7 separate regions of the Homo sapiens genome follow, and all the other regions are linked to region 1. Evidence: promoter capture Hi-C in 16 types of primary human blood cells and fetal thymus (Javierre and others, 2016). All regions are on one chromosome and are shown on one strand. Each heading gives the region's core, a stretch centred on a gene start or on the middle of the fragment in contact. The rest is flanking DNA. Distances are from core to core; before and after follow the strand shown. Region 1 holds the start of IFT74 (intraflagellar transport 74). Region 2 holds the start of SAXO1 (stabilizer of axonemal microtubules 1). Region 3 holds the start of RRAGA (Ras related GTP binding A). Region 4 holds the start of HAUS6 (HAUS augmin like complex subunit 6). Region 5 has its middle 27 kb from the start of PLIN2. Region 6 has its middle 4.6 kb from the start of DENND4C. Region 7 overlaps NFX1 (nuclear transcription factor, X-box binding 1).

Region 1 (4,394 bases), core at 1,075-3,574:
AGTAGTAAATTATGGATAAAAATGTGTCCCTACTGTCAGGGTTTGTTATCTTTGACAACAAAAATAAACATATAACTGCAAGTTATAATGAGTGATATGTAGTGTTAAAATAATTAAATTGGAGGCCATTAGACTGAAGTCGCTCTAATGCACTGAGTTCCTACATGAGGAAACTGAAACTTAAAACGGAATCACAAGTGGCCAACTAGTCATCAGTTATATCGTCTTGAACTTCCCACAAGAACAGTCCAAATAAGGCAACTGCTCAAACTTTAACCAGTCAAATAATTTCTTTGCTGTGCTCTGCATTTACTCTCTGAAAGCTTTCAACTACCTCTGGGGGAGCCCCAAACCACTTATGATTTGGAGCTGCCTAATTCATGAATTGCTGTCTGTTCAAATAAGCTCTTTAAAATTTTAATGTGCCAAAGTTTACCTTTTAACAGATAGGAATAGTACAGGGTGCACTGAGGACATATAATGAGGTGGGGGGCCAGAAGGAGTTGGAGCACTAATCTAGTATGGACTGGCAGAGAAGACCTCTCTAATAAAAGACATTTGGGTTAAGACCTGAATGATGAACAGGACTTTGGACAGTGAAAAGCAGAGGGACAAAGATTCCAGGAAGAGAGAATTGCAGTGAAAAGGACTAGAGACAGAAAGGAACTTGAAACACAAGTAGTCTTACAATAAACTTAAAATTTGACATAACCTAATTACTAACCAAATTACAACTTGATATAACCTAATTCCAATTTGATATAACCTTAAAAGCAACAGAACCTAATACATAATGATCCAAAGTCAAATAAGATATGGTGCCTACTCTAAGGAAGCTCAGAGGCAAATAAGTGAGATGTATTCCTATTCTCTATTCCTTTTTCATCATGAAAAAGAAATGGGGACAGGGATCAATACTTACTACCTAAATGAGCTTAAGCAAATTATTTAATCTCTTTAAAACTTGGATAATAGTATCTGTCCTGCCAATTTCAACTGTTAATATCTGTCAGGGTCCTTAAGTGCAAGGAACAGAAATCATCTATAAATGATATAAAAGCTGAAAATGAATTTATTAAAGGACATTAAGCAGCTCACAGACTCTCCCAGAAGCTGAAGAAACAAGCTAGAGGTTCTCCTCCCAATAAAGCCTCTGAGTACCTAACACTGCAGCTTGCAACAACACACTGATGCTGGACACTGGTTGCTGGTGATAGAACATTGCAGTCTCGGAAACGATGTAGTTACTGCGGCTGTCACCCTTACTTCAACAGACTCTCTGAAGTCCTGCTTCTGGTTGTCATTCAAGTTTGAGTTGAGTCCACCAAATTAGATTGGAGAGTCTAGCAAGCAATAATACTCATGTCCCAGTAATAAGGAAGACTAGGAAAGCCAGTATCTGTCACTTTCAGTTCCTGTAAGGGTGTTGGGGGGCAGGGTAAGGGAGAAACTCTGCCAAAAGGATGACAAATGGCCACTGCAAATAGGGTGAGCTCAAATGAGATAATTACATGAAAATGTTTCACAAACTAAGGGAGAATTCAGCCACATAACATTATCTCATTTTGTGTTGTATTGATTTTTAACTCCTCGAAGGCAGGCAAGTTGGAAATAATGTGTAAAATAATGTTAAAATCCCAATACATATGCAATCACATTTAAGCTGTTATCAATGAAGATTGGAAGGAAACATACAGTAAAAGTTATTTTATTAGAGAAGTGGGATTTAAGGTGAAGTAGTTCTTAAATTAAAAAAAAAAAAAAAAAGGACACTTTCCATTGAATTCACAGTCTTCCCCACAAACTTGGATCCAAATTCTAATGAAAGGAAGCTTAAAGACGCAAAGCTTCTGGTGAAAGCAGGAACGGAACAGTTGGTGCCAGAATCGCATCCATACTTCATGATGCGTTGTGTACGCTATGCCGTCCTAATAGGAAGGAAAACTACCACAAATTAGGAGTTTAGAAAATTGCACAATGCTGCCTACCACTTAACTTCAAATGTAACCTGTTAACAACGTTAGCCGACGTGAGGTTACCTAGGGACATAGCAAAACTCGCTAGAGTTACTTCAAGTAAGGCACACGGAGGTTGCTCTGATTATCAAGAAAACCAAACGTTCACATAAAATGTTTGTCTTCCAGCCGCCCCGCTGTTTTCCACTTTTTCCAAAAAGCACTGAAGCGTGGTGAAGAAACAAACATATCCTCAATTCTCGCGAGAGCTCCGTGTGTAACCAAGGGCTGAGGCGGAGGATTGGTCACTCAGGATGAGGAGCCTCCGCTATCCCGCCCCCGTTGCCGGGATACGCCGCGGCGCACGGCAGTTAGTGGGTAGGCCTGAGAGCCGAGGAAAACTGAGCGTGGGCCTCAGAAAGAAGTTAAGGCACCCGCGAGCCGGGCAACTGCCCTCCTTCCGCGCCGGCGGAGGTGAGAATCCCCGGGTCCCATCTCTTCCTCCCTCCCTCCCACGTCTGTTCTCTTGCCTTGGAGATGCTGATCCGCTCCAAACAAAACAAATTCAAACTCGGTCTTAGCTAACTGTTACCGTCGGGCCTGTAGCCAGGCCAGGCATGTACCAATTCTAGTCGAGCGAAGGTTGCGAACAGACCTCCTCCAACAGCCCGACCCCTCCCCGACCCCCCGCAGGAGACCCGCCAAGCACAGAGCAGAGGGAAGGACCGCGATGGGCTGAAGGATTTTAGTCAAAGCAATACATTTCTGCCTCTTACAGTGGAAGGGACTTATTTCTGTCTGTTGATCACAGTGCGGGCAGTTAGCAACTTTCCACTTATTCACCTGTGTGAGAATGGTTGGCTTAGGGAGGATAACGATAGTAATAATAATTAGAAGCAGATGTTTTAAATGTAATACTTATCGTCTTCACAACAGCCCTGCAAGGTAGATGTCACCCTTCTGTTTTACAGAAGATGAAATCCTGAGGGGTTAATTAAGGTGGCAAGATTATGCAGCCGCTAACTTTGTCAGCACTAGTTTGTATCGCTAATCATTCTGGATCCAAAGGCCAGGCTGCCTCTCTGTGTGAATAATTGGAAATTGTGTGACTCTTTGATTGAATAACCCCGAAGTTAGTGGTATATTTGTTGCTAATGCCCGCCTCTTAATCCCACTGGTAATAATATAATGGTAAGCTTTTTTTCACCACAGTAAAACGGTGGCAAAGAAAATTGGGTGAAATTTTTTATGTTGTACATTTTCTCAAAGTTAGCAGGAAACCTAGAGTAATATCTTTTCCACTGGAAAGAGATGTTTATTGTACTCGTTTTCTTCTGGAAAAACCATTTTGATCATACACCGTCTTCCTTTTCAAAGAGTCATTTCATGAAATTCCTTTTTCCATTTGAAATTCTTTTGCTTTGTACATAGAGTTCAAAATGGCAAGGAATTAGAATCAGGGAGCTAGTGGGGTCAGGAAGATTGATGTGAACATATTCAAATGAGATATCTGAATGGAAATTTCAGATAAACAATTGAAAACTCAAAATTGGTGCCCAGTTGAAAGGGCAGAACTGTAGACATTGATTAGTGAGCCGTACACATAGTTGGAGTTATAAAGATGCATGACTGTAGAAAGGATAGAAGCAGTCCAAGGACTGATTACGAGTAATGCTAAGAAAAGTCAGAAAAGTAGTACTGGACATAGAGTGTAGAAACAGAGAAATCATTTTAGTCCAACACACGCTTTGTTTGCCTTTTTTTTTTTTGAGACGGAGTCTTGCTCAGTCGCCCAGGCTGGAGTGCAGTGGCGCGATCTCGGCTCACTGCAAGCTCCGCCTCCTGGGACTACGCCCGCCACCACGCCCGGATAATTTTTTTTTTGTATTTTTAGTAGAGATAGGGTTTCACTATGTTAGCCAGGATGGTCTCCATCTCCTGATCTCGTGATCCACCCGCCTCGGCCTCCCAAAGTTCTGGGATTACAGGCGTGAGCCACCGCTCCCGGTCGCTTTGTTTGCTTTTTAACAATTTAGTAAATTTTTGTAATTGGCAATACCTTTATGTACGAGGAAATTTAAAAGATACAAGAGAGAACAAAGTTTTTGCTTATCACTGAGACAGATTTTGGGGATATAAAGATGATTAAGATTCAGCTCTTGCCATAAAGGGTGAGAAATACTTAAGCAGATCATTTCAAGTGGTGTGATAGGTTCTGGAATAAAGTAATACACAGGATGCATGGTAGCATGTAGAACAGGCCTATACACTGAAATTGAAGAAGACGAAGATTCCAAGACCAGTTATGGACTGGTCATGGAAGGATTCCCAGAGAAAGTAATAGGCAAAATGTGTGTTAGGCAAGGGGACCACTTAAGAGGCTGGTATAATAGTCCACCTGAGTCAGTGATGCCCTGAATTGGCCAGTGCTGTAGGAAT
Region 2 (4,394 bases), core at 1,065-3,564, 7.9 Mb before region 1:
GAAGATGAAAATGAAACTGGAATTCAGAAGACAGGAGAAACTATTGGCTGAAACCATAAAATGGAGGAGAAAATACAGGATGAGGAGAGAAGAAAAGGAGAAGAGACACAAGAACAGACTCTGCTTCCAATGGAAAGTGACTCCTTTGCAGGGACAGAATGAGAACAGAGTCAGAGAAGGAACACCCAAATGAGTCATAACCCTACTGCAGGGGCAGGAGGGAGACTTCTCACTATATATGCTCTGCACCTCTTAATGAGCATTCTGCCTTCCTACCTAGACTGCACGCTGTGCAAAGATGGAGACTATGTCTTATACATTCAATCCCAATGCCTAGAACAATGCAGGAGGACACAGGAGGGTAATGTAAAGCATCCCAGTAGAAAGAAGGCCTTAGTGGCTCATGCCTGTAATCCCAGCACTTTGGGAGGCCGAGGCAGGCGATCACCTGAGATCAGGAGTTCAAAACCAGCCTGGACAACATGGTTGAAACCCTGTCTCTACTAAAAATACAAAAATTAGCCAGGCATGGTGGCATGTGCCTGTAATCCCATCTACTCAGGAGGCTGAGGCAGGAGAATCACTTGAACCCTGAGGCATAGGTTGCAGTGAAGCGAGATGGCACCACTGCACTCCAGCCTGCGCAACAGAGCAAGACACTGCCTCCAAAAAGAAAAAAGAAAGGCGGCCTTAGAAAAAAAGGTTTTGCTTGGTAACATGTAGTCCTAGACTATACACTGCTCTGGCCCCACTTAACAAAGCTCAAAAGCAAGACCCACGTTTGTACATGATCTAGTTCAGTGAGTCCCAGTCCTAGCAAATGGCCAGAATCACCTTTAGACAGTTGACAGGGCCCACTCTGAGAGTATCAATTCAACGGCCTGAGCAACTGATAGTTTTCAAACTCCCTGTGTGATTCTAATCAGCAGCCAGAGTTGGGAACCATTTATTGATGCCAGAGATATAGAAGGTTGCTGATCCAGTTTTTAGAGTGCCCTTTAATTCTCCACACTACTGATACCATTTTTATATGCATGTGTCATATTTGCCCTTTTTTCAGATTTCAGGACACTAACATATTAAGCACAATCCATGTACCAGGACTCACATACATGATCTTAACTCTTACAATAGTCCTATGAGGTACGTATTGTTGGTACAGATGAGGCGACTATGACCTGGAGTTTAGTTACCAATCTAAGATCCCACAATTAATGACAGCCCAGGAAAGGTGACCTCAGAACCCTCTTGCCTGTTGCTCCTCTGCTGCCCACTCCCTGCCCCAGCCAAGCAGAAACCCAGCTGCCCTGGGAAGCAGATAGAAGGAGCCTCTAAGAGATCATGTGAGTGACAGCAGACCAGTCAGCCCGTGGGACTCTGACTAAAGTCCATGATTTCCCCCAGGACCACCTTTACTGCGCTTCCACCCAAAGATGGTCCTTAAAGGTTAGAAGGGAGACCTGGCAGGCCAGGCGACTGTGAAAGTAATGTTTTCATTATCCTTATTCAACTCTACACAATGTGGAACAAGTTTTACTAATACCTTATACTTCTCTGACAAAGTAACAATCTCTCTGAATGAGAAATTCAGTTATACTACAGGAATTCTCCTCCCATCCTATCACTTTCCCAAAAGGAGCAAGACTGGTCCCACTGGGCCAGGTGTTCTCCCTCCTTGGCTGACACTTTCTGGGCTTCAGGGAAGGGAGTGCAGACTGCGCGGTCACGCCCATTTTCAACCCTCCTGCAGTTCTCAAGTGAAGCGGCACAGAAGGCCCGAAAACAGCCACATTCGCCAGAACTGATGTGGCGTCCGCGGGCACAACGCTAGTTGACACAATTGTGGCTTAAAAAACGTAGCAAGTGGACGAACCCACCGTGATGCCGCCTGATGAAGCAGCTGGGGGAGGCTTCCCTTCCTCGGGAGTCTGAAAACCCAGGCTCCCCCAGCCTTGCCCTGGGCGTGGCCACCTTACCCGCAGGAGCACAGTTCACAGATGCACTTCGTCTTCATAGGGGCGATCCTGAGGCCCTGACGTCCCCTCAGAGCATCGCCAGCTGCAGCCGACTCCTAGACCCCAACCACCTGTCTTGGGGCACGCCCAGGCTCGAGGGTCTTGGCAGGTGTTCTGTTTACTCGAAGGAAAATTTAAGTGGCCCTTTTGCAATGTCCTGTCGTCTGTTGCCCTCCTGGAGCTGGCCTAGCGCGAGGTAGCAGCAGGGGGCTTGCACGCGCGCCAGCCCGGGAGACCTCACCCTGCACGCCACCGCCCCGGCCTCCGCAGTCCAGACTTAAGCACCTGGAGCGGCTGACTGGGCCCCAGGAAGCTGCGGGGTCCGTGCCCAGGTAGCCTCTGTGATGTCGCCAGGGCCAGGAGGGGCACGCCTCAGGTGGCAATTACATCACAAGAGCCGCTTGTGAGGTCGGGAAGCTCCCAGCACCTCACTGGCAGGCCCAGGACAGGGGTTCCCCGGTGAACCTTGGAAAAACCTGAAAAAGGTGGAAGTCACTAGAAAGCTCCTGGTGCAGTAAACGGTCACACGTGCAGAAAAGCTGAAAACTCCCTCACCATCACCTTGGGTGGCATTTGCTATCTCTAGGATCCATGGTGCCCCCTCTTAGGGGAATACAGCCTTGACTTCCAAAAGGCTTGCCTTGAACAGGGTTTCCAGATCTTCCTGTGGAAACCTAGGCCTTTGGCTTCAGATGTCTGTTAGAATTGCTCTCACCCACAGACCTGCGCTCTTGAGAACACAGTGGTTTAAGAGCGCCCAGGCCTTCACTGCTCAGGTGGGTTCTCAATCACTTCTCCAGATGCTGGTAATGATGCCTTGAAGCAGGCGTTCTCAAATTCTAGTTGGCATCAGGACCACCTGGCTTGATGAAAACCAGATTGCCAGACCCCACCCCCAGTTTCTGATTCAGTGTTTCTAGGGTAGGCCAAAGACTTGCATTTCTTACAAGCTCTCAGGTAATGCTGGTTCTGCTGGGCCACGGACCACACTTTAAGAACTACAGCTTTTGAGGTTCCTTTACACCCCCTGGAATAGTGTTTCTTCAGCTTACCTGATCCCGAGAGCACACCCCCACCCAGAAGTCTCCCTTGCATCAAAACCTCTAGTCCGGGAATCTAGCTTCAACAAGAAGCCAGGTGATTCTGGTCATGAAGCAAGTTCAAAAGACACTGCTCTGGCCAGTTGTTTGGACTTAAAACATTTTGACTTCCTGCTTATGGGAAATGGGAGCTTAAAGTATTGACAATCTTTATGCTTTTCTTTCCTATGCTTCCTAACTCTTTCCATTCATTTTAGTGAATGAGTCAGTCAGAGGCATCTTGGACTGCAAGACACTTAATATTCAGAGGGTTTCTTTTTGTGTGGGGGGGGTTAGGTTTTTTCCTTCAGTAATAGGCTCTAGAATAGAGGTCAGCAAACTATTGTCTGCAGTTGGCCACTTGACTCTATCTGGCCATTGAGCTAAGAATGGTTTTCATATTTTTTAATGGTTGAAAAAATTAAAATAATAATATTACATGACAAATGAAACTTACCTAAAATTCAAATTTCAGTGTCTGTGAATAAAGTTTTGAATTTTTTCAAAAAATTTGTGTAAACATTCCCGATTTTGCCTCTTGGCCCACAAAAGCTAAAATATTCACTATCTGACATTTTACAGAGAGAGAGTTCCAACCCCAGTTATAGGAAGTCAGCAAGGTAGATTCAGACAGGAGCAAAGCTTATTGATCATTCTTAAGAACAGTGGGGTGGGAAGCTGCTCCTTGCCTTCCCAGTAGGAAGTCAGAACTCTACAGGGGAGGATGGAAACATGGCCAGACAAAAAAGAGGTGGGAGCTATTGGAAGTCAAAGCAAAACCTGCATGCCATCCATTGCCATTGACAGAGAACATCACACAGTCCTTACAGAGGAAATACAGTGCTGGACACCAGCCTTCTCTTGATGGCTGCCTAAACATTATCCATAAATCTTTCAGCAGAAGAATGCCTGTTCATGCCCCCTGCCATTCAAACTGCCCTTGTGGGTGGCCACCTTGTCAACAATCATGGTACTCCCCACTTCCTCCATCCATGCCCTCAATAGAGGGTAGAGATCTTGAAAGATGAAGATGGTGTGGACAAAATAGCCTCAACAATGATATACCTAAAGATCAGTGCTAGACAGTAGGGACAACCTCCCCTCACCTAGTTACACTTACTGTCCATCTTTTGTTACATCCAGCCAAACTTACCCTGACCCATCTGATATGGTTTGGTTCTGTGTCCCCACCCAAATCTAATCTTGAATTGTACTCCCATAATTCCCACATGTTGTGGGAGGGACCCAGTGGGAGATAATTTGAATCATGGGGGCGGTTTCCCCCATACTGCTCTTATGA
Region 3 (4,394 bases), core at 1,171-3,670, 7.9 Mb before region 1:
TGAAACCCCCTCTCTACTAAAAATACAAAAATTAGCCAGGTATGGTGGCAGGCATCTGTAATACCAGCTACTCGGGAGGCTGAGCCGGGAGAATGGCTTGAATCTGGGAGGCGGAGGTTGCAGTAAGCCGAGATAGTGCCACTGCACTCCGGCCTAGGCTGCTGAGCAAGACTCCATCTCAAAACAAAAACAAAAACAAAAATAAAACTTAGCCAGGCATGGTGGTGGAGGCCTGTAGTCCCAGCTACTTGGGAGGCTGAAGCAAGAGAATCTCTTGAACCCAGGAGGTGGAGGTTGCAGTGAGCCAAGATCGTGCAACTACACTCTAGCATGGGCAACAGAGTGAGACTCTGTCTCCAAAAAAAAGAAAAAAAATACATTAGAGGAGACTCCGTAAAATGTGATATCCAGACCTTAGGAGTATTCACATGACAGAATAGAGGAAATACATCATCAAACAATTCAAGAACATTGTTTAGAATTCAAGGGCATGGTTTCCAAATTAAAAGACACATTGGAGAGTCCAGTACAATGCAAATTTGGGCTCAACAATGCCAATTATCATTAAGTTTCAGAACACTAGAATAAGAAAATTTCGAATATGTTTTTAGAGAGGAAAGAATAGATCAAAACCAAGAAGCAGGCATCAGACTACTGGCTGCTAAAAGACGATGGAGCAACAGAGCAATGCCTCCAAGACTCTGAGGAAAAATTATGTCCAACCAATCAAGTGTGAGGGTAAAAACAAAGAAATTTTCAGACATCCAATCTCTTGAAATTTTTACTCTCCTCATACTTTTTATCTGGAAACTATTGGAACATGTGTTCCACCAAATGAGCCAAAAATGAGAAGATGTGAAATCAGGAAAAAGAATACCCAACTCGAAAGAACGGGGAAGGGAAACCCCAGAATGGTGGTGAAAGGCGATCAGATAAGAAGGCTCCAGAAGAGGTAGCACCAAGGAGATGAAACTGAATACATTGAGAGGAGATTTTCCACATACTATATTGTATTATGGAATTTCACTCTATGATTTCCATAAACTACAGCAAAGGCCATTTTTGAACTTCTTTTACTGCACACGTTAACAGTAGGAATTAAAATATTTTTTGAATAAATGAAAGAATGGAATACCTGAATTTGTACAGTACAGTATACACTTTGATAAGGGCTTTAGGCCAGGCACGGTGGCTCACGCCTGTAATCCCACACTTTAGGAGGCCGAGGCAGGTGGCTGGCTTGAGTTCCAGACCAGCCTGGCCAACATAGTGAAACCCCGTCTCCACTAAAAATACAAAAATTAGCCGGGCGTGGTGGCAGGTGCCCACAATCCCAGCTATTTGGGGGACTGAGGCAGGAGAATCGCTTGAACTCAGGAGGCGTAGGTTGCAGTGAGCTGAGATCGCGCCACTGCACTCCAGCCTGGGCAACAGAGTGAGACTCCGTCTCAAAAGAAAAAAAAAGGACTTTAAGGTAGATACAGAGGCTTCAGTATCCTGATGACTCTCATTCATTCTGTATGAACGATACTGGCGACACTGATTCACTCATCTACTTGAAGACCAAGAGCAGAATCATATTATGCTTTGAGAGGGGCACAGGGTAGCCTATTGTTAGGCAAATAGACCGCAGCAAGATTGTCTAAAACCAAATTCCATTTCATCATTTAGTATCTGTGTAACTTGGTCAAGTGACTTAACCTCTCTAACCTTTGATTCCCTAACTTGAAAATAGGGTTATTAATTCACAGGGTTACTGTGAGGATGGAACTAATGCCTGGGATTCCACATTATCATTTCCTCGAGCTTTGGAATTCTAATTATAAATTCTAAAGTCTGAGATTACGGAAAAGCAGATGTGAGAAAGGAATTAAAAGCACCCACTGGAAGCCAGGATGTCTCCTAGGAGGGACTTGCTATTACCTAGCTGCGCAGCAACAGGCAATCGCTTGCCTACAAGTCTCACTTTCCGCGCCTGCACAGTCTCCATCTGCCCTGCCCTTGTACTCACTGGGCCGGGCAAGCTGGGGAGGCCTAAGCGGACTGGGAAGTTAGGCTTTCCCTCCACTTCACCAGTCGGCTGCCCCTGCGGAAACCGGCCCGACACACCTCGCTCCTAAAGCCAGTTGCGGTGGTGGTGGCGGTTGGGGCTTTTTTTGGCCACGAGAGGGCAGCATTTCCCCCGGCCAACCACACACGTACCCCTAGCAACAGCAAACCCAGCTGCAACAGAACAAAAGACCGAAGTCCTCGAGCTTCCCTTCCATCTTAGGGCTCACGCCGCCCCGGTTAGGTTTCATTAGAGCAGCGGCTTTTCAAGGCTCGTCGGGCACGGAGGGCGGAGCGAGGGAGCTCTCGCGAGATCGCCGCCGGAAGTGGGTGGTGGCGGGGACGCAGCGGCTCCCTCCCGGAAAGCGAGCGTATCTCCCGAGCCGTTGCCACTGACAGCCGCGGGCGCTCCCATCTGAGTAAGAGCCAGCCCGTCCGCGGCCTCTCCAGCCCCGGGTTCGCGCTCTCGACTCTCCTGCCTGCCCAGCTGCGCGGCGGAGCGGAGCGAGGCGCGGCCTGCGAGTCCCCGGCAGCCCCCGACCCCTCCCTCGGCGCTGCGTGTAGGCCGCGCCCTCAGGCCCAGTCCGCGGTGCCCCGGCGGGTGATGCCAAATACAGCCATGAAGAAAAAGGTGCTGCTGATGGGGAAGAGCGGGTCGGGGAAGACCAGCATGAGGTCGATAATCTTCGCCAATTACATTGCTCGCGACACCCGGCGCCTGGGGGCCACCATTGACGTGGAACACTCCCACGTCCGATTCCTAGGGAACCTGGTGCTGAACCTGTGGGACTGTGGCGGTCAGGACACCTTCATGGAAAATTACTTCACCAGCCAGCGAGACAATATCTTCCGTAACGTGGAAGTTTTGATTTACGTGTTTGACGTGGAGAGCCGCGAACTGGAAAAGGACATGCATTATTACCAGTCGTGTCTGGAGGCCATCCTCCAGAACTCTCCTGACGCCAAAATCTTCTGCCTGGTGCACAAAATGGATCTGGTTCAGGAGGATCAGCGTGACCTGATTTTTAAAGAGCGAGAGGAAGACCTGAGGCGTCTGTCTCGCCCGCTGGAGTGTGCTTGTTTTCGAACGTCCATCTGGGATGAGACGCTCTACAAAGCCTGGTCCAGCATCGTCTACCAGCTGATTCCCAACGTTCAGCAGCTGGAGATGAACCTCAGGAATTTTGCCCAAATCATTGAGGCCGATGAAGTTCTGCTGTTCGAAAGAGCTACATTCTTGGTTATTTCCCACTACCAGTGCAAAGAGCAGCGCGACGTCCACCGGTTTGAGAAGATCAGCAACATCATCAAACAGTTCAAGCTGAGCTGCAGTAAATTGGCCGCTTCCTTCCAGAGCATGGAAGTTAGGAATTCCAACTTCGCTGCTTTCATCGACATCTTCACCTCAAATACGTACGTGATGGTGGTCATGTCAGATCCGTCGATCCCTTCTGCGGCCACTCTGATCAACATTCGCAATGCCCGGAAACACTTTGAGAAGCTGGAGAGAGTGGATGGCCCCAAGCACAGTCTCCTTATGCGTTGAATATTGCCAAATGCTCTTTCTGAAAATGCTGAATTGCCTTTTTTGTTTGCATCCTTTATTTTTAATATTCATAATGTCGTGTGCTTAAAAGTGGGCTTTGAAGTGTGTGCTGCTTACTCCTTTCATCTTTCTCCCCGCTTCCCCAGTCTTTAAACATTGGACGCTATTTACTCAGCTACCCAGTAGAGCTTGAAGCTGACCTTTCTGAGAAGTTGGTATGGTGTAACACTAAAGTAGGTGGTTCGTGTGTGTTCTCATTACCTGGTTATGATAGATATGCACATCAAAGCCTTTACCAGTATCTTCCTGTATTCCGTATCAGATTGCAAAGACGGAATGTTACTATTTTATCAGCAAGGTATTAAAATGCATTTATAAATTCTTCTTGGCTTCATTCATGAATAAACGTGTTAGCAATTTAAAACATGTCCTTATTTGAAATAACTTGAAAGTGCTTAATATGCAAATCTAAAAATTCTGACTGCCCACAAGTATTGCTTGACTGGCAAATTTGATTCTGTGAATTTAGCCCCCAGCACTTTAGTGATGTTTGGTAACAGCTGTAGAAGCGCTTATGCTATGGACTGAAGCTAGACCACCTGAGTTAGTATTCTGGTCCCTTCACTTACTAGCTCTGTGAACATGGGCAAATACTTAATTTCATTACACTTGTTTCCTCATTGGTAAAATGTGGGTCAGAATACTACTTTATAGCCAGTCGTGGTGGCTCACACCTGTAATTCCAGCACTTTGGAAGGCTGAAGTGGGAGGATCACCTGAGATCAGGAGTTCGAGACCA
Region 4 (4,394 bases), core at 636-3,135, 7.9 Mb before region 1:
CAATAGTACATAAGTGAAACTATAGTTAAAAATAATTTATTGTGTATTTTAAAATAGCTAGAAAAGAACTGAAATGTTTCCAACACAAAGGAAAGATAAATGTTTGAGATGATGGCTATCCCATTTATCCTGATCTGATCCTTATACATTGTATAAGTGTATCAAAATATCAAAATTTTATATCCCCAAAATATGTACAACTATGAACATAAATAAAACAGGCCAGGCTCGGTGGCTCACATCTGTAATCCCAGCACTTGGAGTGGCCAAGGCGGGGGGATTGCTGGAGGCCAGGAGCTCAAGACCAGCCTGGGCAACATGCCGACCCTAGGCATGGTGCCACGCACCTGTAGTCCCAGCTACTCAGGAGGGTGAAGTGGGAGGATCGCCTGAGCCCAGGAGTTGGAGGCTGCAGTGAGCTGTGATCGCACAACTGCACTCCAGACTGGGCGACAGAGTGGGAGACCCTGTCTCAAAACAAAAAACAATGGCTCATATCTATAATCCCAGCACTTTGGAAGACCGAAGCAGGAGGATTGCTTGAGCCCAGGAATTTTGAGACCAGCCTGGGCAACATGGTTAGCTACTGTCTCTAAAATAATAATACTTTAAAAAAATAGAGGCCGGGCACGGTGGCTCACGCCTGTAATCCCAGCACTTTGGGAGGCCGAGGCAGGTGGATCATGAGCTCAGGAGATCGAGACCATCCTGGCCAACATGGTGAAACCCCGTCTCTACTAAAGATACAAAAATTGGTTGGGCGTGGTGGCAAGTGCCTGTAATCCCAGCTACTCGGGAGGCTGAGGCAGGAGAATCGCTTGAACCAGGGAGTTGGAGGGTGCAGTGAGCCGAGATCGTGCCACTGCACTCCAGCCTGGCAACAGAGGGAGACTCCATATGAAAGAAAAGAATTCCTCTTGGCCTACAGTGGGAATGATTAAATAGAGATACTGGCTAAAGTTGATAAAACAGAAGTGGAAAAAGTAGGGAAGGGGCTTTTACTTTCCATACTTTTCTTAAAAGGGTATTTGTTTTTAATACCCTTCTCCGTTGTTTTATGCTAACTCCAACATGCCTTACTAATTAAAAAATTAAAAATTATAAAATTAAACAACCACCTTCAAAGGCTCCCTTGAGTCCAAAAGGTGTTTTGTACATATGGTTCCCATGCTCTTCCACTACCACCCGCCATCCCTCCCACTACTTCACAGACCACCCCTCCACCACATAGGCAGAGTTAAGCTGCTCCTCCAGTCTTGCACTCTCCCCATCTGCAGACTTTTGCACTCCCCTACAGAGCGCTTCCGGCACTCTTGCATTATTTACTGTCTGTCTCTGCCCCTAGGCTGGCAGCAACTGGGAGTAGGAACTTTGGAGCCAATGCCTGGCACAGAGTAACTGCTCAACCAATTCTGATTAATCAACCTCCGGGGTCTACAAAAGGGGGAGTCCCCCGGCGTCCCCCGGTTCAGGCTCCCTCGCCCCGCCGGCCCCGGCCTCCTTACACTCCGAGGTGCGTGTGCGACACGATCTTTCCGCAGGCAATGGTTGCCGGGCCTGGCTCGAAGCCGAGCGCCTGCAGATACATCCAGAGATGCTCCTTCTCGAAAGCGGTGACCGAGGCCGAGCTCATCCTCGCGGTAGGCACGGTGGCTGCAAAGAAAGAAAGCGCAAGCCCAGGGGACTCGGAGGGCCCTCAAGATCCCTCCCTACGGTCAGCCTGAGGTCGCGGTGGTCCTTCCATTGCCAACGCCTGCTCCTTTCACGCCCAGAGCGATTTCGCCTCAAAGGGCCTCACAACCTCCGGGAAATTGAGTTTCTAACGGTATAGTGCGGCCACCACTGCCTCAGCGAAGCCACCACAAACCGAGACTCCCGCCCTTAAGGAAGAGCAGTGTGCGCCGGCGCCGCCAGGCGTCCGAGGGAGGAGGGACTTCCGGCAAAGACTATATCTCCCGCCATGCAATGCGTCCTTCTCTCCTCCCTTCCGGCCATGCCCAGCCAAGAAACTGCAAGACCCACCGGGCATTGCGCGGCCAGCGACTTGCTCTGCGCTTGCTTAACCGCTGTCGTGCCCAGATCCTCGGGCCTTCGGGTTTCTGATTCTTGGTTAGTGGGGTCCATTTGCTTGTGTATCCTAGTTGTTACGTCACAAAAAAGCCATAAATGGAGCACTATGCCTCGGTGTAGAGTTAAAGCATTGGTTCCATCCTCCGCTATGCTCACTGTGACTCTAATCAAGTCACGTAATCTCTGAGCCTCATTTCTGTCGTTAGCGAAATCTATGTCCTCAAATGCCGGATGTTCCTTTTCCTGCTTTAAATGAAATCTGGCTCTATACTCCCCTGCAGTCCTGCAGTCTTTTTTTTTTTTTTTTTTTTTTTTGAGACGGGGTTTCGCTCTTGTTGCTCAAGTTGGGGTGCAGTGACGCGATTTCGGCTCACTGCAACCTCCGCCTCCCGGGTTCAAGCGATTCTCCTGCCTCAGCCTCCCGAGTAGCTGGGATTAACAGGTGTCCGCCACCACGCCCGGCTAATTTTTTTGTATTTTTAATGGAGACGGGGTTTCACCATGTTGGCTGGCTGGTCTCGAACTCCTGACCTCAGGTTATCTGCCGGTCTTGGCCTCCCAAAGTGCTGGGATTACAGGCGTGAGCCACTGCGCCTGGCCGCCTGCAGTCCTCTTAATTTTTTTTTTTTTTTTTTTTTTTTTTTTGAGACGGAGTCTAGCTCTGTCTCCCAGGCTGGAGTGCAGTGGCGCAATCTCGGCTCACTGCAAGCTCCGCCTCCCAGGTTCACGCCATTCTCCTGCCTCAGCCTCCCGAGTAGCTGGGACTACAGGCTCCCACCACCACGCCGGGCTAATTTTTTGTATTTTTAGTAGAGACGGGGTTTCACCCTGTTAGCCAGGATGGTCTCGATCTCCTGACCTCGTGATCCGCCCTCCTCGGCCTCCCGAAGTGCTGGGATTATAGGCGTGAGCCACCGCACCCGGCCCGTCGTCTTAATTGACAGCTGTTGCCTACCACAAACCCCACTGACAACAGGGCCTGGAAGTGGATTGGGTAACCTGCTTTTAAGTCTCATTGCTACCTCTGGCAATGATTGTCTCCTGCCTCACTAAAATCACCTTAATAAAAGAGAGAGAGGCGGGGCACAGTGGCTCACGCCTATAATCCCAGCACTTTGGGAGGCCAAGGTGGGCGGATCACCTGAGGTGGGGAGTTCGAGACCAGCCTGACCAACATGTAGAAACCCCGTCTCTACTAAAAATACAAAATTAGCCGGGCGTGGTAGCGCATGCCTGTAATCCCAGCTCAGCTACTCGGGAGGCTGAGGCAGAAGAATCGCTTGAACCCGGGAGGCAGACGTTGCAGTGAGCCAAGATCCTTCCACTGCATTCCAGCCTGGGCGACAAAGTGAGACTCTGTCTCAAAAAAAAAAAAAAAAAAGAGGAGAGAGAGAGAGAGAAAGAAAGAAAAGCCACTAAGTTGCCCAGGCTGGGCTCGAACTCCTGGGCTCAAGCGACCTGCCCACCTTGACCTCCCAAGGAATGAGCCACCGTGCCCAGCCTAAAAGCACCTTTTGAAGTTTATGCTATCACCCATAGCTTTTCATTATGGAGGTCATCTGTAAGATCTCTGACTCCATTCTGGTGGTGCACGCCTGTGGTCCAGCTGCTCAGAAGGCTGAGGTGGGAAAATCACGTGGGCCCTGGGAGGCTGAGGCTGCAGTAAACTGTGATTGCACGACTGCACTTCAGCCTAGTGACAGAGCAAGACCCTTCTCAAAGCAAAAGAACAGCCACAAAAAAAAAATCTCTGACTCCTGTCGACAAAAAGAGTCAAAGTCTGTAAAATTGTTGCCGGAAAAAACAGAGTCCTGATCCAGACCCAAAGAGAAGGTTCTTGGATCTCGTGCAGGAAATAATTTGAGGTGAATCACAGAACACAATGAAGGAAGCAAGTTTATTGGAAACTACTCCGTTGAAGAGCGGAGCAACCTCAGAAAGCAGGCGGAGGAACACAAGGTCCTTTGTTACTGTCTCTGCTTGTAAGAAACTATAAAGAGCTGTGATTAAACTTGGAATGCGCAGATGTGCTCACTAAAGGTAGGGCTATTGTGCTTTCAGAGACCATTAATCTTTCAACCTAAGCTTGCTCATTAACGTCATCTTTAAGTAAAGTGGGCTGCTCTTTAGAACATCTGGACATTCTGCAGGCTTAGTGGGAGATGTCCTGTATGGCCATAAATATTCTGTAATTATAATTGGTGGCCAGCTTAGAATGTGGCTATTTTTAAACCATAAGCATTAATTTTATAGGAGCCTTGTAAGTGCCTAGCTACTTTAAGATGGAGTCACTCTAGTCATGTTTTATTAAACCAGAGGTCTGG
Region 5 (4,394 bases), core at 1,135-3,634, 7.8 Mb before region 1:
CCAAAGTGCTGGGATTACAGGTGTGAGCCACCATACCTGGCCATAATTTTATTTATTTTTGAATAGGTAATACTTACACATGATCTGATATGCAAAACCTACAAAAGATAATACAGTGAAAAGCCTCCCTTCCATTCTGTCTTCTACTCACAAAGTTCCCCCTTGCTGGAGGCAATCAATGCTATCCTTTCTTTTCTTTTCTTTTCTTTTCTCTTTTTGTTTTTTTTTTTGAGACAGAGTCTCTGTCTGTTGCCCAGGCTGGAGTGCAGTGGCGATATCTCGGCTCACTGCAACCTCTGCCCCCCGGGTTCAAGCAATTCTCCTGCCTCAGCCTCCTGAGTAGCTGGGACTACAGGCGCATGCCACCACACCTGGCTATTTTTTTTTGTATTTTAGTAGAGACGGGGTTTCACTGTGTTGCCTAGGCTGGTTGCAAACTCCTGAGCTCAGGCAATCCACCTGCCTCGGCCTCCCAAATTGCTGGGATTACAGGCGCGAGCCACCGCACACAGCCAATGCTAACTTTTTCTTATGTATCCTTTCAGAAATATATATATATATATATATATATATAATTATTTTTTTTTTTTGGTATGTTGTCTCTCTCTGTTGCCCAGGCTGGAGTGCAGTGGTGCGATCTCGGCTCACTGCAACTTCTGCCTCCCGGGTTCAAGTGATTCTCCTGCCTCAGCCTCCTCAGTAGCTGGGATTACAGGCGCCTGCCACCACACCTGGCTAATTTTTGTATTTTTAGTACAGACAGGGTTTCACCATGTTGGCCAGGCTGGTCTTGAACTCCTGACCTCAGGTGATCTGCCCGCCTCGGCCTCCCAAAGTGCTGGGATTACAGGCGTGAGCCACCGCGCCCAGCCCTCAGAAACATTTTATGTGTATTTCTGCCTCCAAAATAATTTCTAAAATTGCTAAAAGAATGTCCCTTAGAGAGTAACTAGTGTTCAGACTGGGCTAATGTTATTTACATTCCTCTATTTTACTCTAATGTATCTAATTTCAACCTTATTTGGAGGCATATTTTTTCAACATTTCACTCTGAAGATTTTTCAAACATACAGGAAAGTTGAAAGAATTGTTCAGTGGGGCCAGGTGCAGTGGTTTACGCCTCTAATCCCAGCACTTTGGGAGGCCAAGGTGGGCGGATTACTTGAGGTCAGGAGTTTGAAACCAGCCTGGCCAACATGGAGAAACCCCGTCTCGACCAAAACTACAAAAATTAGCTGGGTGTGGTGGCAGGCACCTGTAATCCCAGCTACTCGGGAGGCTGAGGAAGGAGAATCACTTGAGCCCCAGAGGTGGAGGCTGCAGTGAGCTGAGATCACACCACTGCACTCCAGCCTGTTAGACAGAGCAAGACTCCATCTCAAAAAAAAAAAAGAAAGAAAGAAAAGAAAAGAAAGAAAGAATTGTTCAGTGAACACCCACACTCCCACCACCTAGATTCTGCAATGACTAATTTGCTACATTTACTTTAGGTATTGCTATTATTATTCTCATTTTACCGCTGATGAAACTGTGTCTTGTTGCAAAAGCTTCTAATGGTATCTTGCTTAATCTTTTTTTTTTTTTTAATTATTCCAGCATTTCAACCAAGGTCCAAAGAGATTAACGTTCCCTGAGAAGAATTTCAATCCAGTTTCTTGTGTCCGAATATGGTCTGTAGATAAGGCCCAAAGAACACAAGTTCTCTTTTTCACTTGTAATTGCGCCATCCTTTGGCCCTTATCATTCCACGTGGTGCTGTTCTCCCTAACAGTTTAACCTCCCTCAGCTGACCTCCTTCTTCTTGAAAGCATGGTAGCTTTTAGGCATGTGAGGGAAGCAGACCAGGCATCCCAGCTGACTCATCTGTTTTTATCTCAACAGCCTACATGGACAACCACTTTTCTACTCACAGTGTGTGGTTCACAGACCAGCCGAATTACATCATAAATGCACAGTATCAGGCCCACCCAGACCTATAGAATGAGAATCTGCCATTTCACAAGATGTCCAAGTGATTCCTATGCACATGCCACATCATTACAGTCTCACTTCAGCCATGGTTAAAAGGAGCCCAATGTGATTTACTGGTCATACGTGGAAAAAAAAAAAAGAGTAGTTCATGACATTTTTCTTGATCAGCCATGGTAACTCATGTCTGTAATCCTAACACTTTGGGATGCCAAAGTGGGATGATCACTTGAGGCCAGGAGTTCAAGTCCAGCCTGGGCAACATAGCAAGACTATAAAGAAAAATAAAGACATTTATCTTTAAAACAACCTTTCCTTCTTCTTGTTTTTACATCTCATTTGCCTCTTTACTCCCTTTCTTCACAACCTGTAATTCCACTTATTGAGCCTGCTGTGTATGCTACGTATGAGGAACATTATTGCTAACCCTCAGAGGTTTACAGAAGATGTTTTATTCCTAATTTACAGATGAGGCTCAGAGGATTAGAAATCCACCTAATATTAAACAGCTGTAAATATTAAGTATGTTCTTTTCCAAGACCTACTGCTCTCTTTCTACTGTAAAACAATGTATTTCCAAACTCTGGCAATTGTCTCAGCCTAGACGTTTCCCACTAGGGCCAGAGAGCTTATGTCTGCCTGTCATCAAAGGCTTGTGGACTTGTCTCTCTCTCAAGCCTCTTTCTCATGTCTTGTTCACTACTAGTTGACCTGGATCTTGTTCTTTTAGCTCCCAGGCATCAACCAGGTGTTCTATAATCTAAGAACTTAGGTAACACCTGTGCATTGTAATGATAGCCTCCTACAGATGGTGAGAGGAGGTGGGAGTGAGAAGATGACAGACAGGTGAAGAAATATTTGGCGAGGTAGGATGCACTCTGCCAGGGCATGCCCCATTTCAACCTAAATAAAGAGCTCAAATAGCTGTTGTGCATATGGTATCTTGCTAATGCCTATGCTGGGTACAGAGATCTATAAAATGTAATTCCTGCCCTTAATAAGGATAATTAATCCAGCAGGGGAGCTAGAACATGCACACATAAAAGCCCCATGAACAAAGTACAGCAGGAACATAGAAGAGAAGCTGCTTCTGGGTGGTGAAATAGATGATTACAAAGAGCATGGGATGGGAGGCAGAGAGCCTCTCAGGCAAGGGGAGAATGTGCAGAAACAGAAGGAAGGAAAAGCACCTTTGGGGAGTCTCCTGCACAGAGCCCAGGGTGGCTGATGGAGAAGGTATGTTAGATTAAGGGGGAAGCTTGGGAATGCCTCATAGGGAGTCACTGAAGGTTGATAAGTAATGTGATCAGAAGTGGGCAGTTCGGTTACTACTTTGGCAGAGAATGTGGCTCAGAGCAGACAGTGACTAGATTGAGCAAGGTGACAGATTCATACCTAGAATGAAACTCAGAGAACAGGTAGACAAGCAGCTTTCAAACTTTTTGGCCCTGAAACCCTTTGTACAAATGAAATGTTAGTCAGCCATTGTAAACAAATAGATTAAAGCTAAATTACTCTGGTTGGAATAAGTGGGAGGGAAGAACTGAGTTCTTTCCTTCCTCTCATTTCTTTCTTTCTCTCCAAGTGGATTCTGAAGGGGCTTCTTGTTTGAAAATCAATGATCAAAGGGCTTAGCAAACCACAACCAGCTCCTGCCTGCCACCTGCTTTTGCAAATAAAAACCTATGGGGATACAGCTATGCCTCTTTGATTTCATATTGTCTCTGCCTGCTTTCATGTTACAATGACCAAGCTGAATAATCAGGACAGGGAAACCCCATGGTCCACAGAATTGAAAGTATTTGCTATCTGGCCCTTTAAAGACAAGGTTTGCCAACCTACCATCTAGGGCTTTATTACAATGCACAGGTGTTACCTATGTTCTTGGTCTGTGGTCTAAGTGTCATCCTTAGACACCAGCACACATTGTCCCTCTGTGCACAGATAGCTCAGGGTGGTGAAGGTTGATTTAGGAGTCATTGACAGCCAGGCGCGGTGGCTCATGCCTGTAATCCCAGCACTTTGGGAGGCCGAGGTGGGCGGATCACCTGCAGTCAGGAGTTCGAGACCAGCCTGACCAAAATCCAACATGGAGAAACCCCGTCTCTACTAAAAATACTAAATTAGCTGGGCATGGTGGCACATGCCTGTAATCCCAGCTACTCGGGAGGCTGAGGCAGAAGAATCACTTGAACCCGGGAGGCAGAGGTTGCGGTGAGCCGAGATCACACCATTGCTCTCCAGCCTGGACAAAAAGAGTGAAACTCTGTCCACCCCCCCACCCCCCCGAAAAAAAAAAAGGAGTCATTGCCTTGGAATTAGGAGTTAGGAGTTGTGTGAGATGGCTTATGATCAAGAGAGAGGGTCCAGAGAGAAAAGAAAGGAGGTTCTGAGAAAACCTTCAGTAATGGCTAGATTTAGAGAAC
Region 6 (4,394 bases), core at 619-3,118, 7.7 Mb before region 1:
GCCCAGCCACGTTTGGCCTGTAGGCCTAGAAAAGAAAGCTAGATAAAGAATGTGCTGAGTACCAAGAGACTCTAGCCCACTTTGATAATGCTGAGACAGAGTCCTAGCAAGATAAGATATGGGAGGGAGCACAAAGAGAAGAGTGTGCTAACACTCCCTGCGAAGGGTGGGATATTCTGGGTCATTTAAATAGGAGATTTAGTGTTTAATAAAACAGATTTAGTGTTTGTTGATGTTACTTAACTTAAAAATCTAAAACAGTGGCTAACGGTGCCTGCAGGTGTGAAGCACTGGGCCTTCAAATACTATGTTTTCTAAAATTAATGAGTTGGGGGACTGGAGCCAAATAACTCGCCAGTCTACCACATGCAGATTACATATTGGAAAGTGGAGACCAGGCTTGAATTTTAATGCTGTGGAGGCTCTCTTAGGAAATCTCGAACAAGTTACTGTTTGGTGAGCTATGTGACTTCTGAGGCTGGCAATCAATCAATCAATCAAAAGAACTTTGAAGTGAGTAATTTCTCCTCAATATGTAAATATGAAATCACCAAAACTGAGACTGAGGGACTCTGGACAACTCAGTAAATTTGGCTGGGGCTTAATTTCCTCATCTTATCAAATCAGTTAATTAGAATAGATGATCTCTAAAGATTGGCATTCAGCTCCAAACTTCTGATTCCATAAAATACTTAAAAAAGAAGACTTTTTTATTACAGAAAAATTCAAAAAGCCATAAAAAGGAAAGGAACTCTTAAGTACCAATCACCCAACTTCCACATGTGTCTAATCTTTTTTACCTAACCCCTACCTACTCCCTTCTCTTTCCCGCACTCCTCCCCATCTCCCACGGATTATTTTGAAGCAAATCCTAGACAACATATGAAACACACTCTTAACAAATTTCTCTTCTATCAAAGGTGGTTTATAAATAACAGATGAGATAAAGTCAGTCTTTCCGGCTGGGTGCAGTGGCTCACGCTGTAATCCTAGCACTTTGGGAGGCCGAGGTGGGTGGATCACGAGGTCAGGAGATCGAGACCTTCCTGGCTAACAGGGTGAAACCTGTCTCTACTAAAAATACAAAAAATTAGCTGGGCGTGGTGGCGGGACCTGTAGTCCCAGCTACTCGGGAGGCTGAGGCAGGAGAATGGCGTGAACCCGGGAGGCGCGGGTTGCAGTGAGCGGAGATCGCGCCACTGCACTCCAGCCTGGGCGACAGCGCGAGACTCTGTCTCAAAAAACAAAAAACAAAAACCAAAAGTCAGTCTTTCTACTTTTCCTACTTTTTCTTACTGCAATTGTAAACACTATCATTATGGTATTAAAATAAGCTTGGATCAGCATTACAGGATGCCAAGTCATATGCTGAATGAATCCAATCATATTCACTAAAAGAAGAGCTACCATTAATGAGCACTTGTTACCTTCCAGGTACTGCTGTATTAGTTATGTGTTGTCGTGTAACAAATTATCCCCAAATTTTGCAGCTGGAAAGAAGAAGCATTTATTACCTCACAGTTTCTATGACTAAAGAATCCGGGAGTGGCTTAGCTGGGTGATCTGGATCACGGTCTCTCAGGACGCTGCAATCAAGATGTTGGCTGAGGCCATGCTCATCTCAAGGCTCAGTTTGGGGAGGATCCACTTCTAATCAAAATCACAAGGAAACCTGATGGCATGGTACCTAGTTTCCCCAAGAGCAAGCAATCCAAGAGGATGAGACAAAGAATTTAAGACTGAAGCCACAGTCTTTTATCATTTCATCCTGTTAGAGTTATCCTATCAGTTTTGAAGTACTCAGTGTATTAGAAACCAGTCAGTAAGTTCACCCCACACTCAATATGAGGGGATTACACAAGGATATAAATGGCAGGAGGCAGGAATTGTTGTAAACCATACTGAGAGGCTGCCTATCACATGTGCTGATTATTGATTCCTGAACTGATGTGTTTAATATTTATAGCCTATTGTAAATTAATAAATGATCTTCTTTGTGAATATCATTCTACTTACTTTACAGATGAGGAAAAGTTAAGTAACTTACCCAAGAACAGAGAGAAAGAAAGTGAGAGAAGCACAGACTGATTTATGCCAGGCATTCATCAATTATTATTATTATTATTTTTAACTTTTTTTTTTTTTTGAGACAGGGTCTAGGTGTCACCCAGACTGGAGTGCAGTGGCACGATCTTGGCTCATTGCAACCTCCGCCTTCCAGGCTCAAGTGATCCTCACACCTCAGCCTTCCGAGTAGCTGGGACTACCGGCATGCACTACCACACCCAGCTAATTTTTTGTATTTTTGGTAGAAATGGGGATTCGCCATGTTGCTCAGGCTGGTCCTGAACTCCTGAGCTCAAGCGATTTGCCCACCTTGGCTTCCCAAAGTGCTGGGATTACAAGCTTGAGACACCACACCTGGCCCATCAATTAGTTTCTGAGAGACTATAATATATATGAGTTACTCTGCTAGATCCTAGGCATCCAGAATAAAAACATATAAATACACATCTGTGATATATATTACTCCTGCCCTCACAGGGCAATGATTAGAAGTTTTTGAAGCGGGGCTGGGCATGGTGGCTCATGCCTGTAATCCCAGCACTTTGGGAGGCTGAGGCGGGCAGATCACGAGGTCAGGAGTTCAAGACCAGCCTGAACAACATGGTGAAACTCCGTCTCTACTAAAAATTACAAAAATTAGCCGGGTGTTGTGGCGCGTGCCTGTAATCCCAGCTATTCAGGAGGCTGAGGAAGGAGAATCGCTTGAACTTGGAAGGCAGAGGTTGCAGTGAACGAAGATCACACCATTGCACTCTGGCCTGGGCGACAGAGCAAGACTCCATCTCAAAAAAAAAAAAAAAAAAAATCATGTTTTTTTTTTTTTTTGAGACAGAGTCCTGCTCTGTCGCCCAGGCCGGAGTACAGTGGTGCAATCTCGGCTCACTGCAACCTCTGCCTACCGGGTTCAAGCGATTCTCCTGCCTCAGCTTCCTGAGTAGCTGGGATTACAAGCGCACACCACCACGCCCGGCTAATTTTTGTATTTTTAGTAGAGATGGTGTTTCGTCATGTTGTCCAGGATGGTCTCAAACTCCTGACCTCAGGTGATCTGCCCGCCTCGGCCTCCCGAAGTGCTGGGATCACAGGTGTGAGCCACCGCGCCCGGCCCCAAAAATATCTTAAGGAAATTTTCAACATTTTCATTCCACTCCTTTGTGTCACAGTTCCACGGAAATCTGCAGTGACCACGCCCAGTCAGAAGGCAGCAAGAAGGAGCTTTCTGCTAGAATGTCTGTGTTCCCCTCTTCGATGGGCTGATTTTTTCCTATGCATTCTTCTATCTACATAGGCCCAACTAAAACTGTGACACTATAATCATTATAACAATTATGTTGATATCGGGCTCTCCGACTCTCCTACTTTTTATACAGTCAAATATTATTATTATTTTTTTGAAACAGGGTCTTGCTCTGTCCATCAGGCTGGAGTGCAGCGGTGAGATCTCGGCTCACTGCAATCTCTGCCTTCTGGGTTCAAGAGATTCTCCTGTCTCAGCCTCCCTAGTAGCTGAGATTACAGGCACCCACCACCATATCTGGCTAATTTTTGTATTTTTAAATAGAGACGGGGTTTTATCACATTGGTCAGGCTGGTCTCAAATTCCCGACCTCCGGTGATCCACCCACTTCAGCCTCCCAAAGTGCTGGGATTACAGGCATGAACCATGGTGCCCAGCCTTTATATTAAAATTTAAAATGAGGCCGGGTGTGGTGGCTCACACCTAGAATCCTAGCACTTTGGGTGGCCGGGAAGCAGGCGGATTGCTTGAACTCAGGAGTTTGAGACCAGCCTGGGCAACGTGGCAAAACACTGTTATCTACCCAAAAAAAAACAAAAACAAAAACAAAAAAAACAAAAAATTAGCCGGGTGTGGTTGGTTGCGCACGCCTGTAGTCCCAGCTACTTAGAAGGCTGAAGCAGGAGAAGCGCTTGAGCCTGGGAGGTGGAGGTTGCAGTGAGCCAAGACGATGCCATTGCACTCCAGCCTGTGCAATAGAGCAAGCCTCTGTCTCAAAAAATATATATATATATAAATATATATATATAAAATTTCAAATGAACTTATTTCAGTTCTGGGCCCCTAAGCATGCAGTTGGGAAGGTTGCTGAATCAAGAACTTCCAGATCTGAGAACAGTTAACTCACATGAAAAATTAGTCCCAAAACATTCAAGTTCATTCTATGAAATTTTTGGTGGAAAATGGCAGTGAAAAATCTATGGTAAATCTATAGGACGATTAAGATAGTGAGAAAAATTAAAGAAAATCCTAAGCCTTCCATTGCAAAGTGAGAAAAATCAAGTCAAGTGGAAGAGAGATACTGGCCTCA
Region 7 (4,394 bases), core at 920-3,419, 6.3 Mb after region 1:
CAGCTACTCAAGAGGTTGAACTAGGAGGATCGCTTGAGCCCAGTGGGTCAAGGCTGCAGTAAGTAGTGGTTGTGCCACTGCACTCTAGCCTGGGTGACAGAATAAGAACCTGTCTCAAAAAAAAAAATATTATTAAGCTGCTGTGTGGAGAATAGGCTCTAAGAAGGCAACAGGACAAGTTAGGAGGCTATTGCAGTTGTTCAGGTAGGAGATGATGGAGACTTAGACTGGAGTAATAGTGTGGAAAAGGTAACAATTGGATAGATTTTGGATGTATTTGGAAGGAAGATTTTATGCCTGAGCAACTTAAAAGAATGGAATTGGCATTTACTGAAGTGTCAAAGCCTAGTAGAGAAAAAGGTGTTTGTCTGTAAAATGTTTCAGTTTGGAATAATTTCAGATTTATAGAAAAGTTGCAAAGATAGTTCAAAGAATTCCCATATATCTTTCACCCAACTTCCTCTAATGTTAACGTCTTACATAACCAGACTGCCTTTGTTAAAACTAAGAAATTAGCACTGGTATAATCATATTAACTAAACTACAGATGTTATTCAGATTTCACCAGTTTTTCTGCCAATGTCCTTTTTCTGTTTGAGGACCCAATCCAGGATACCACGTTGCATTTAGTCATGTCTCCTGAGTCTCCTACCATCTCTGACAGTTTCTTCATCTTTCCTTTTTGGAAAAGATGTTTCTGCTCTTGTTTTATTTACTTCTTATTCAGGGAAGATTTTTGTTTAATTTGGTTAAATTTCTGTAATCCCAGTACTTTGGGAAACCGAGTCAAGAGGATCACCTGAGCCCAGGAGTTCAAGACCATCCTGGGCAACAGAGGTAGACCCCATCTCTACAAAAACTAACAAAAAAATCAGCCAGGTATAGTGGCACACGCTTGTGGTCCCAGCTACTCAGGATGCTGAGGTGGGAGGATCGCTTGGGCCCAGGAGTTTGAAGATGCAGTGAGCCACGATCATGCCACTGCACTCGAGCCTAAACTTTGGTGACGCCTGTAACTTTCACAGAAAGAGGTTGTGGAACAGACTAAATATCACTCATTTATTCCTTTATCCATGAATTTAACAAATATTTAATGGAGCACCTAGTATATGCCAGACACTGGAAATACTACACTCAGCAAGGTAGACAAAACTCTCCCTTCTCCTGAGCTTTCAGTCTCAGGGTGTTCTCTATTTCTTTTGACATTAAACTGAACAATCAGAAAGTAAATCTTAGGAGAGCCAATATTATGGAATATTACAGTGTGCGCTTTTGAGTCAGATAGTTTGACAAGTTTGAATTTTGACTTTTAAATTTCTAGTTGTGTGACCTTGGATAAATGATCTAACTACATGAAGCCAGTTTCTTCATCTGTAAAATGGTACCTATGTTATAGCATTTTTTTTTTTTTTTTTTTTTTTTTTGAGACGGAGTCTCACTCTGGAGTGCAGTGGTGCAATCTCGGCTCACTGCAACCTCCGCCCCCGGGTTCAAGAGATTCTCCTGCCTCATCCTCCTTGGATTACTACTGGGATTACAGCCACACTCCACCACGCCCAGCTAATTTTTGTATTCTTAGTAGAGATGGGGTTTCACCATGTTGGCCAGGATGGTCTTGATCTCCCGACCTCATGATCTGCCCGCCTTGGCCTCCCAAAGTGCTGGTATTACAGGTGTAAGCCACCGTGTCCAACCTGTTACAGCCTTTTTGAGAGGACTAAATAATAATATGTAATGTGCTTGCAATGTTGTATTTAAGGTTAATTTTATTCTTTTAACTTATTTAGACCTGAAAGCAAATAACAATAATATTATGAAATAAATGCAGTGCTAAAAGTATGTACTCAAAAAAGCATATACACACACTCACACTCAGTTTTGAGAGTATCTGGCTGTATTGAAATCTAGAAAGACTTTGCTGCAATTGTGTTTGAGGAAAAAAATCTGGAAGTGGGTGAAGGTATTCAGGAATAGATCTGGGAGGATTATTCTGATACTACACACTGGTCTGTGTCACTGGACTTTGAGCTCCTGGAGCCAGGGACTGTAACACCACCATGGGGCTTATGGTAGGCACCAAGAATATCTTTGTTAAGTGAATGACTAAAGACTTTGAGGGCAACGGCTAGAGCCATCTCACCACTCATGGGTTGTTGGAACCTGCCCAGACTTGGGCTTCTTATAGCTGACACTACAGCTTCACGAGCCTCTTTCTAACCTAAATCCATGGATCTGATAGATTTAGAGGATCCTGGAAAATAGAAAATGCAAAGCAAGATCCTGTATTGCCCAGTGGATCCTCAGGCTATGTTACAAGGGGCATTTGGCTACTCTGCTGTTTTCCTGGGAATGTTTCCTTAATTGTGGGAATCCCCACCTGAGTGTCTCCTTCCTAAATCCTCTTCCTCAGCAAATTCCTGCCCCTTTTTGGCCTCAGTCTGAATAGCCAGCTGCCTTACCCAGAATCAGATATCCCTTAAAATCTCTGTGTTTGGATTCTTCTCTTGAGTGACTTGCTGATCCTTGGTTGATTAAAGTGAGGAATGGTTTTTTGTGTTTGAGTTAATCTTTTTTGTTATTTTGTTTTTTAAACAGGTTCTCTAATTGAACAACTAACAACAGAAAAATACGAGTGCATGGTGTGCTGTGAATTGGTTCGTGTCACGGCCCCAGTGTGGAGTTGTCAGAGCTGTTACCATGTGTTTCATTTGAACTGCATAAAGAAATGGGCAAGGTCTCCAGCATCTCAAGCAGGTCAATTAATTCTCTCTTCTGAGTAGTTATTCTCCCCTATTTGATACGTTTAAGTATTATTAAGCCCAGCTTTAAAAATACAGTTTAATTTCTCTTAACTACTTTTTCTGCAGGGAGAGTATGTTACCTTGATCATGTGTTTCATATGACCAGAATTAAGTTATAGATCTTAAATAAACCAGCTAAACAACAATATTAAAATATATTTTAAGATACGACAAAATCAGTCACTCTTATTGAAAATGATGGCTTTTACTTATTATTTTTTCTTTGACCTACTGATTTTATTTCCTGTGGATACATAAACAGAAGTGTGATTGCAGGATCATATGGTAATTCTATTTTTAATTTATCTTCTTCTCATTTTTGGCCAGGCATGATGGCTCACGCCTGTAATCCCAGCGCTTTGGGAGGCCAAGGCAGGCGGATCATCTGAAGTCAGAAGTTCAAGATTAGCCTGGCCAACATGGCAAAACTCCATCTCTACTAAAGATATAAAAATTAGCCAGGCGTGGTGGCGGGCACCTGTAATCCCAGCTACTCGGGAGGCTGAGGCACAAGAATTGCTTGAATCCAGGAGGTGGAGATTGCAGTGATCTGAGATTGCACCACTGCCCTCCAGCCTGGGTGACAGAGCAAGACCCTGTCTCAAACAAACAAAAAAACATTTTTTTTTCATTTTTAAATTTTTACTATGCATACGTAATAGTTTACATGTTTATGGGGTACACATGATATTTTGATACAAGCGTACAATGTGTAATGATCAAATCAGGGTAATTGGCATATGGGGATTCCAACACCTCAAATATTTATCATTTCTTTGTGTTAGGAGCATCCCATTTCTACTCTTCTAGTTATTTTGAAATATATAATAAATTGTTGTTAGCCATAGTGCTACTAAACACTAGATCTTATTCCTTCTATCTAACTGTATTTTTTTTTTTTTTTTTTTTTTGAGACAGAGTCTTACTCTGTTACCCAGGCTGGAGTCCAGTGGTGTGATCATGTCTCACTGCAGCCTTGAATTCCTGGACTCAAATGATCCTCCTGCCTCAGACTCCCAAGCAGCTGAGACTACAGGCACATGCCACCACATCCAGCTAATTTTTTTTTTTTTTGAGACGGTCTGCTGTGTTGCCCAGTCTTGTCTTGAACTCCCAGGCTCAAGCAATTCTGCATCAGCCTCCTAAAATGCTGGGATTAGACACATGAGCCACCATGCCTAGCTAGTGGTTTTTTTTTGTTTGTTTTTGTTTTTTTTTTGAGAGGGAGTCTCACTCTGTTGCCCAGGCTGGAGTGCAGTGGCACGATCTCGGCTCACTGCAGCCTCCACCTCCCAGGTTCAAGTGATTCTTCTGCCTCAGCCTCCTGAGTAGCTGGGATTACAGGCGCGCACCACCACGCCCAGCTAATTTTTGCATTTTTAGTAGAGATGATGTTTCATCATGTTAGCCAGGGTGGTCTCAATCTCCTGACCTTGTGATCCACCCACCTCTGCTTCACAAAGCGCTGGGATTATAGGCATGAGCCACCACACCTGGCCTTTTTTTTTTTTTTTTTTTAATGAACCCCATATTTAGTGGAAAATGCTGTATTCAAGCTAAGCAGTCAGTATTGTGAATTTGTTCCTTAAATGT

What was found. Contacts are between HindIII fragments. The CHiCAGO score rates a contact against its expected background, and 5 or more counts as called.
Region 2: a contact is called between the fragment with the promoter of SAXO1 here and the fragment with the promoter of IFT74 in region 1, in 1 of 17 cell types (total CD4 T cells). The highest score is 5.4, in total CD4 T cells.
Region 3: the fragment with the promoter of RRAGA here is called in contact with the fragment with the promoter of IFT74 in region 1 in 1 of 17 cell types (total CD8 T cells); the score reaches 5.7 in total CD8 T cells.
Region 4: the fragment with the promoter of HAUS6 here is called in contact with the fragment with the promoter of IFT74 in region 1 in 7 of 17 cell types (total B cells, non-activated CD4 T cells, total CD4 T cells and 4 more); the score reaches 18.7 in total B cells.
Region 5: a contact is called between a fragment that was not itself captured here and the fragment with the promoter of IFT74 in region 1, in 1 of 17 cell types (erythroblasts). The highest score is 9.2, in erythroblasts.
Region 6: a contact is called between a fragment that was not itself captured here and the fragment with the promoter of IFT74 in region 1, in 1 of 17 cell types (total CD4 T cells). The highest score is 7.0, in total CD4 T cells.
Region 7: a fragment that was not itself captured here is called in contact with the fragment with the promoter of IFT74 in region 1 in 1 of 17 cell types (fetal thymus); the score reaches 5.1 in fetal thymus.

What each region holds. Positions count from the first base shown.
Region 1 is chr9:26,954,088-26,958,481 of GRCh38, forward strand. IFT74 (intraflagellar transport 74) reads left to right here and starts at 2,325. Exons shown (of 20, transcript NM_025103.4): 1 at 2,325-2,429. IFT74-AS1 (IFT74 antisense RNA 1) reads right to left here and starts at 2,220. Exons shown (of 2, transcript NR_121605.1): 1 at 2,040-2,220; 2 at 1,693-1,928. RefSeq lists enhancers at 1,537-2,272, 2,273-3,007 and a silencer at 3,604-3,898. The HindIII fragment of the contact is 1,304 bases long and covers 1,846-3,149 here.
Region 2 is chr9:19,030,895-19,035,288 of GRCh38, forward strand. It overlaps SAXO1 (stabilizer of axonemal microtubules 1), which reads right to left and starts at 2,315. Exons shown (of 4, transcript NM_153707.4): 1 at 1,977-2,315. The coding sequence starts at 2,014. RefSeq lists enhancers at 1,637-2,190, 2,191-2,744. The HindIII fragment of the contact is 8,262 bases long and covers 1-3,734 here.
Region 3 is chr9:19,047,007-19,051,400 of GRCh38, forward strand. RRAGA (Ras related GTP binding A) reads left to right here and starts at 2,421. Exons shown (of 1, transcript NM_006570.5): 1 at 2,421-4,019. The coding sequence starts at 2,654. The coding sequence ends at 3,595. It also overlaps a transcript of SAXO1 not described here. RefSeq lists an enhancer at 2,361-2,882 and a silencer at 2,490-2,679. The HindIII fragment of the contact is 15,757 bases long and covers 1-4,394 here.
Region 4 is chr9:19,101,019-19,105,412 of GRCh38, forward strand. It overlaps HAUS6 (HAUS augmin like complex subunit 6), which reads right to left and starts at 1,886. Exons shown (of 17, transcript NM_017645.5): 1 at 1,506-1,886. The coding sequence starts at 1,633. RefSeq lists an enhancer at 1,565-2,128. The HindIII fragment of the contact is 8,228 bases long and covers 1-4,153 here.
Region 5 is chr9:19,152,500-19,156,893 of GRCh38, forward strand. No RefSeq gene overlaps it. Among named protein-coding and RNA genes, the nearest start is that of PLIN2, 27 kb to the left of the region's middle. RefSeq lists a cis regulatory region at 1,571-2,159. The HindIII fragment of the contact is 1,679 bases long and covers 1,546-3,224 here.
Region 6 is chr9:19,223,916-19,228,309 of GRCh38, forward strand. No RefSeq gene overlaps it. Among named protein-coding and RNA genes, the nearest start is that of DENND4C, 4.6 kb to the right of the region's middle. The HindIII fragment of the contact is 1,072 bases long and covers 1,333-2,404 here.
Region 7 is chr9:33,298,668-33,303,061 of GRCh38, forward strand. It overlaps NFX1 (nuclear transcription factor, X-box binding 1), which reads left to right. Exons shown (of 24, transcript NM_002504.6): 3 at 2,596-2,754. Among named protein-coding and RNA genes, the nearest start is that of NFX1, 10 kb to the left of the region's middle. The HindIII fragment of the contact is 7,607 bases long and covers 1-4,394 here.